Linked DNA regions of Homo sapiens: region 1 is linked to region 2. Evidence: promoter capture Hi-C in human tissues and cell types (Jung and others, 2019). All regions are on one chromosome and are shown on one strand. The core of a region is centred on a gene start or on the middle of the fragment in contact, and the rest is flanking DNA. Distances in the headings are between cores, read along the strand shown.

Region 1 (3,682 bases), core at 938-3,437, 370 kb after region 2:
TGTGATGTTTTGATGCAGGCCTGCAATGTGAAATACTCATGTCATGGAGAATGGGGTATCCACCTCCTCAGCCTTTGTCCTTTGTGTTACAAACAATCCAATTACACTCCTTTCATTATTTAAAAATGTACAATTAAGTTATTGACTATAGTCACCCTGTTGTGCTATCAAATAGTGGGTCTTATTCATTCTTTCTATTTTTTTATAATCATTAACCATCCCCACCTCTCCCCATTCCCCCACTACCCTTTTCAGCCTCTGGTAATCATCCTTCTTCTCTCTATGTCCATAAGTTCAATTGTTTTGATTTTTACATCACACAAATAAGTGAGATCATGTGATGTTTGTATTTCTGTGCCTGACTATTTCAGTGAGCATAATGATCTCCAGTTCCATTCCTGTTGTTGCAAATGACGGATCTCATTCTTTTTAATGGCTGAATAGTACTCCATTGTGTATATATACCATATTTTCTCTATCTGGTCATCTGTTGATGGACACTTAGGTTGCTTCCAAATCTTAGCTATTGTGAACAGTGCTGCAACAAAGAGTGCAGATGTATCTTCAATATACTGATTCCCTGTCTTTTGGGTTTATACCCAGTAGTGGGATTGCTGGAACATATAGTAGCCCTATTTTTAGTTTTTTTTGAGAAATCTTCAAACTGTTCTCCATAGTTGTTGTTCTAAGGTACATTCCCACCAACACTGCATGAGGGTTCCCTTTCCTCTGCATGCTTGCCAGCATTCATTATTGCCTGTCTTTTGGATAAAAGCCATTTTAATTGGTGTAAGATGATATTGTGGATTTGATTTGCATTTCCTCTATGATCAGTGATGTTGAGCACCTTTTCATATAACTGTTTGTCACTTGTATGTCTTCTTTTGAGAAATGTCTATTCTGATCTTTTGTCCATTTTTTAATCAGATTATTAGATTTTTTCTACAAAGTTGTTTGAGCTCCTTATATATTTTGGTTATTAATCCCCTGTCAGATGGGTAGGTGGCAAATATTTTCTCCCATTCTGTGGGTTGTCTCTCCACTTTGTTGATTGTTTCCTTTGCTGTGCAGAAGCTTTTTAACTTGATGTGATCCCAAGTGTCCATTTTTGTTTTGGTTGCCTGTGCCAGTTGAATATTGTTCAATAAATAGATTATTTGATTTTATTATGTTATTTTCTTATATAGAACCTCTGTGTTGGTTCAAAATATACAAAAATATTATGAATTATTCATTCACTCAAAATATATTTAGTTAGCATTTACATAATAAGTAATTATCCAGCATCCACCTATATTTCTATCTAGAGTGCCTGCTACCCCTAAGGTCACTCATTCCATTGCTGTGTAGATTTTCTTTGTATATGGTCCAGATGCCCTCTAAAGCATCCTCTCCTTCATTCTGGCATCTGTTTGAAGTTATCGTGAATAAATGTACAATTTTATTCTATTCATTTATTTCATTTTTCAAGAGCAGCGTAAATCTTTGCAGATCAATTATTAACCCAGCTAAATCATCCCTGAATTTTAGCTATTCTTTTATTTTTATTTTATAGTTTAAAAACTCATAGAAATAAAACTATAGACATCATAGAAGATAAACTTTTGGAGAAAACAATTTTATATATAACCAATATTAACATATGATATAATCTCCCATACTTTGTCTTATGCTTAGGTGTATACATATGATAATTTCTAAACAAATATTCATTCAAGTTTATACAATACACTCTATATTATAAACTTTCTGCATCAGTAAACAGCAATTTAAGATTTCATTTTATGGCTACATATTACACCGTTGTGAACACTATAATGTATTTAACTAATCACAATTTTAAGAATTCATTGAATTTCCAATAGCTCAAAATGCAAAAAAAAAAACAAAAAAAAAAAAAACCAGCAATTTTGCAATGTTATCTTTGCTGCACTTGTTCTTTTTTTGAATAAATTTCTAGGAGTGTGAGAGTTGTGTCACAGCACATCAGCACATACAGTTTTTAAAGTTCTTGTGTGTGCTTCCAAGATACATCCAGAAATACTGTAGCAGTCAATTTTCATTTCAACAGTGCATAAGAAGGACTTTCCCCCTACAACCACACTAACACTGGGTATTACAATTTTCTCTTTCAAAACAGTGCATCAACTGTCACCTATTTGTCCTGGGGAGCCATTCCAATTTGCTAGCGTTTCTCAAAATGTTGGCTGTTTGTAATTAATTATGGTTTTAAGTGCAAAATGGCTGATGCAGAGTAGGACTGATTTATGCCTTCCTTGTTCTAAATACAATTTCCCTAAATAAAACTACGATTACAAAGGTTTCTGGCAGCACTATCAAACTGGTTTATCACAAAGGAGTTGAGCTCATTACCATCATTCATATAGTCCCTTTATTTTATCTTATAACTTCCGATGTCAACTTTTACAACCCAAAGCACTGCACTCAAGTTAAACAAATCAACTCCAAAAACTAGAATTAAAGAATCCTCACTTCCTACAAGTTAAAATGAGAATCTTCAGTGCAATACAAATAACATGAAAAATTAGCTGGGAGGAAACATCCAAAAGGGAACTTCAGATAGAAAACAATTAGCTTTGTTCCTCCAGCAGGCAAAAGAATATTGTGGCTTCAATTTTTCTTTTGATTCCATTTAATTTTCTTTCATTGGCAATTATCCTATTAAACTGGCTCTTTTGTTTTTGCATAAGTAATTAATCCCTCAGAGCTCAAGATTACCTCCTTCAATGGCAAAATTTAGCCCTGTGCAGTTTTTCCAGGATTTTGAAGGCTGCAAAGCTCTTGTAAAAGTGACCGTGCTCTAGACTTTTCCTGAGATCAGTCTCCTAGAGACCCTGGGAAGGAAACTCTCTGAGCATCTATTAAAGGAGAGAAATAAAGTGTATGTAGCTACTATTTCCAGGTGTGAGGTTTTTGCCTGCAGCCCATTTAAGAAGCTAGTGCTCTAATTTTAAAACTCAAATTTAGTTCAAGCAGTATTTATTGAGTACATACTACAGGGTGAGGACTGAGGACTCTGAGAAAGGATTATTTCTTGCCTTAAAAACAAAATAAAACAAAAACCAAAAAATTATAGCTGGTGAAATGCACATAATTTTGAGAATAGAAAAGACCAGTGGGTTTTGGAGTTTGGAAAAAAGACCAATCTCTGTTCAAATCACAGATTTGCTACTACCTGACTCTGTAGCCTTGGACAACCTTCAAAGTCTCAGCTTATTCACCTAGATTCCAGACCAAGAAATGAGGATGGTGAAATCTGAAACAAGTGGATGAACTAGGTAAGAGTCTTGTAAATACCATGGGATCATCATCGTCAAAGGGGTATTCACTGGTAGCAGTAATATAAGGAAACCCCATCACAAGGTAAAATACAGATATCAAAATTTAAACAACATATGGTTGTATTATGGGGATGTTAAAGCAAGGATCAAGGCAAGCCTGTGCAGACAGCTAGTCAGGAGTTCCGCCCGGCCTTCTGTGCTCTCCAATTATTTCCGTGTTTCTATTTAGTTTGGGGCCAACAGGATGTGGTCTACTTCAGCTTGACTGTTGAGGGGATTATTGTGATTATGCTTCTGTGGCCCACCGGAGCTTGAAGGACAAAAAAATCTTATTCCAAAAATCTCCTGGCTGGAGACCGGGAGATTGATCCAATCCAGAG
Region 2 (4,093 bases), core at 1,564-4,063:
ATTGGAGAAGAGACAGGATCCCACATTGACCAGAAGTCCAGGAGGCCAGTGATGGGTGAAGCACTCTAACAGTGCTGGCAATCTAAACATCATGAACAATTTTCAGTGGGGTCGTGCCTGTTTATTCTAAGCATCATCTATTCAAATTCGACCATAAGGAAGAGGAGTTTTAAGCTTCTAATACAGCAAAAATGATACAGAGGCTAACGACAGAGCAGGCCCATACAAAGCAGCCCCCTGACCATGCATCTCACACCAGCCATCTGTTTGAAAACACTTCACTTGACATGTTTCCCTCATTTTTGAGAAACCCCCAAAGTCACTCTCCTGTTACCTACCATACATTTTGCAAAGACAGTGCCATGCCATTAATTAGCTATTGGTTCTAGTAAATTTAAACAATAGAAACATTGTCTACTTTCTCATCCATAGACAATGTGAACTTTGTTCACATAAGCATATCCATATTTAAGGGGAAGAATAGAAAAAAAAGGAGGAGAAAGGAGGGAAAGATACCTAAAGAACAAGATTCCACCTAAATATAATATTTAAAGCATCTACATCAAAATGCCCTTTTCCAATTAATCAAAACTTGCATTCTTTGCCACCCCCAATTACTGAGGTTGGTTTATTCAAAGCACTGGGGTCGCATCGTGTCATGAGAGAAGATATCATGTTTGGTCACCAAGGCAATAAAAAATTCCCGAGAAAACCATGTGTCATAGGATTGTTTGAAGGATTGGATGACATAACACGTACAGTACTCAGCACTGACAATCAGTATGTGTTTAACAAATGTATGTTCCTTTGAGAACTGAGGGTTTGTGGCTTAGAGATACGGAAAAACCCAACTCTGAAGCCCAGAGCCTGCTACAACACCCTGCTGCGACTCTCCTGAGGAGAGATGTTAAGGAATGGGTCACCTTCTAAATCTGGATGCTTCTCCTCCCCTTCTGTCTCCTGCTCCGGAGACTGCAGACCCTGAGGGAGGGGAATGAGGAGCAGAAAGCAGACTTTCTTAGCTGATGTCAGAGTAGAATTACTCATAGAATCAGAGTAGAAGGGTAGAGTTGGTAGAAACTTTTAGAGGTCATTTAGTTCCACTTTAAGAAGAGATTGCATTCCGCTAACACTCAAGACCTCCTAGGTACAAGGCACTGTGCCAGACTGAAGGCGGAGACTTAAAGAGAGTGAGGCAACCCTGGCTCTCTGGAAGCTATATGATCAATAACCCGGGGAAGTTAGAGGGGAAACAAATGCAAGGCAGGCAGGAGTTACCTGGTTGATGGAAATGACCGCCAGCCGGGGTATGACCACTTGGAGGATGACCTGCAGCAGCGAGGTGCCCAGGCCGGCCAGGATGGCCCAGGTGAGCGGCAGCGGCAGCATACTGTAGGTGGCGAAGAGCGTGAAGAGCACGTAGCCTATGCCGTCGCCCAGGAGCCCGTAGCCGAGGCCTGCTGCCAGGATCTGGGTGGTCATGGCCACCCAGGTGACCACGCCGCTGTACTGCAGGTACGTGTGGGAGGTGGTGTCCTTCCTGACCACCACCAGGGCGCAGATCACTACCTCAATGCCGGTGAAGAAGCCCAGCAGGATGCCCTTGAGCGGGTCCATGGGGGCCGAGGCCAGGCTCAAGTGTAGGACCAAGAGAGTGAGTTTGGTCAGCACGTCCAGCACGTTCATCACCACTTCCGATTTGCGCCTTTGGCCCAAGAAATAGCGCTGGTAGAGGCGTTCCAAATCCCGAGATTTGAAGGAGTTGCGCAGGGTGGGGAAAATGACCCCTCGGTAGCTATAGCCCCCATTAAGAAAGAAATCCGAGTTGCTAGGGGCACAGTCAAGGTGCAGGAAGCCCAGGTCGCCCCCGCCTCCGCTGCCGCTGGCACTGCCGCTCCCGCTGCGTTCCGGGAAGACTTTGGTGCCGCAGGTGCTGTGCGCTCGCTCTCCCGGGCCCAGCGAGTAGAGGGGCAGCGCCGAGTCGCCTGACAGCTGCGGCGCGTGGTGGTTGGGGCCGCCGCCCGCAGGGTCCGAGGCTTTGCCCGAGCCTCCACTCCCGCTGCCGCTGCCTCCCCGGTGCCCGTGAATGAAGCGCTGCTCCGTGATGTGTCGCACCGCCGTCTGCCACAGCAGCCGCTGCGGCCGGGAGGCGCTCCTGCCGTCGCCGGCCGGGGGCGTCGGGTGGATGGTGTAGAGTTCCTCGCTGCCTGTAAGGCAGCGCACATCGGAGAGCTCCATGGCTCTGGGCCGCAGGGAAGGAGGCCCAGAACCTTGGGGAGGCAGCCGGAGGAGGGGTTCCTAAAGACTCAAAGGCGGCCTGGTAGGAGCTTGGCAAGGATCCTTTTTATCCTAGGCTGCCCCGTTGCAGGAGCCCTGCGCTAGGGCTCCCTGTAGGTCGGGTCATACTGTGCCCAGGGGCAAAGGGCACCTGGAAGATCGCGGCGGACCTCGGCGTCCTTGCGTGCTGCTCTCCCGCCAGCCGGCGCAGCTTGGGTACGCAGCGGCAGTGGCTATTTGTCCTCAGGAGCCGCAGCGCTGTGAGCCACGCAGCCCCTTCCTGGGCTCAGGCTCCTTGGTTGATTCTAGGCTCAGCGTTTTGGCGCAGCCTTTGCTCTCCAAGAGACGCCTAAGCGCCTGGGCGCCGTGCTTCTGCTGCGCGTCGGGCGGGTCCTGGCTGCTGCACTGGGCTTTGGACGCCCACTGCTCCGCGGCTGCAGGGGGCCTGGCCGGCGGTGACCGGCGGCAGCGATGGGTGCGAAGTTAGCAGATGTGGCTGGAATCATCGCCCTTCGGAGAACTCCATTGCGCCGGGATGGGGAGCAGGGGCGGAGCTGGGGGCGGGGGCAAAGAAGGAGGAGGAGGGGGTCACGGTGAGGTGGCGGGGCGCCCCGCGACAGGGTTGGAGAGGTGGTAGCCTCGGCGCTAACAATTCACCAAATAGTTAATTTGGAGGAAGGGGTATGCTGAGGCTCCCTCCTAGGCTCTTTCCTAGTTCGGGAGCAAGGACTGACAGCGCAGCGCTGGCTCTGGCCAGAAGCATCCCTCCCGGAGGGGGTGTGGGGACTCTCGCTCCAGGGTCCCAGCCTGAGCTATAAGACGAGGTCAACGCTTTCAGCTGTGCTTTCGAAGGGTCGCAGCACACAGTTCTCATCCCCTTTATTTCGTTCTTTGGAGTCCATTTGGCTCGGAGCTAGGAGGATCAGGAGAGGCGGGGGAAGGAAAAAGTGGTGAGGGCTCCAAAGCCAAGAGCTCCGAGAACGAAGAGAAGCCGCCGGTGCGGATATCTGAGGCTGAGAACCGAAGCTTGGCGGATGAGGCGAAGGTTTGGAGGAGAAGGGAGGCCCGAGGCCGCGTGGAAGTCGACAGAGACGCCTCTGGATCTAGGGAAGCGCCGCCGCGTGCCACCCTGGAGCTCTGAAACGCACCGCGGGCGCCAGGCGACTGGGAGAAATTTGGAGACCTGTCAGAGTGGTCAGACACCCGCGGTGACTTAAACCCGCCCCCGCGCCAAGCCACGCCCCCGGAACCGGGCCGGGGGTGGCGGAGGGACCTGCCATCCAGATCTGGCCAGGACGCCCCAGGTCTTGTAGGCAGAGGCACGCGCGGGCCGGCGTGGGAGAGGACCACTGAGGGCTAGGGCCGGCGGGCGCCCCCGGCCTTCCCTGGGCGCACTGCGATCCAGCGTTCCAGCTGGCCGCGCCAGCCGGTTCCTCCGCTGTTCTTTTTTAGGCATTGGCTCTTGTCCTCTGCAGGTGCGGAGCCAGGACTCGTAGGCCGCTTTGCGCACGGACTCGGAGAGCCCAGCGCGACGGAATACAGGGTTTCCTTTTCGCCCTTCCTACCCGTGCGTCTTTTGGCAAAGCCAACTTTCGGGCTAAACGCAAAATCCCCCAAGAGGCCGCAATCATAGAGGCAGTCAGTTTCCTACAGGAGCCTCTTTACTACCTCGATCCGAAGGGGGTGGAGGGTACGGGACATCAAAATGGGGACGTCCCCTGCCTGCCTCGCACACTAAGTTTCTCCGCTTACAATAGGGTCGAGGAGGCGGACGTGGAGAAAGGCATGTCCAGGGGCCCCGCCTCGCCCTAGCCCA

Evidence for each region. The method cuts DNA at HindIII sites, captures the fragments that hold promoters and counts their contacts. A contact is called where the count stands out against the background at its distance.
Region 1: a fragment that was not itself captured here is called in contact with the fragment with the promoter of ADCY8 in region 2 in 2 of the 25 tissues and cell types used here (bladder and dorsolateral prefrontal cortex).

What each region holds. Positions count from the first base shown.
Region 1 is chr8:131,407,587-131,411,268 of GRCh38, forward strand. No RefSeq gene overlaps it. Among named protein-coding and RNA genes, the nearest start is that of IADEN, 97 kb to the left of the region's middle. The HindIII fragment of the contact is 9,537 bases long and covers 1-3,682 here.
Region 2 is chr8:131,038,096-131,042,188 of GRCh38, forward strand. It overlaps ADCY8 (adenylate cyclase 8), which reads right to left and starts at 2,814. Exons shown (of 18, transcript NM_001115.3): 1 at 1,279-2,814. The coding sequence starts at 2,238. LOC105375760 (a long non-coding RNA gene) reads left to right here and starts at 1,435. Exons shown (of 6, transcript XR_928653.3): 1 at 1,435-1,515. RefSeq lists enhancers at 2,014-2,553, 2,554-3,092. The HindIII fragment of the contact is 7,762 bases long and covers 1,739-4,093 here.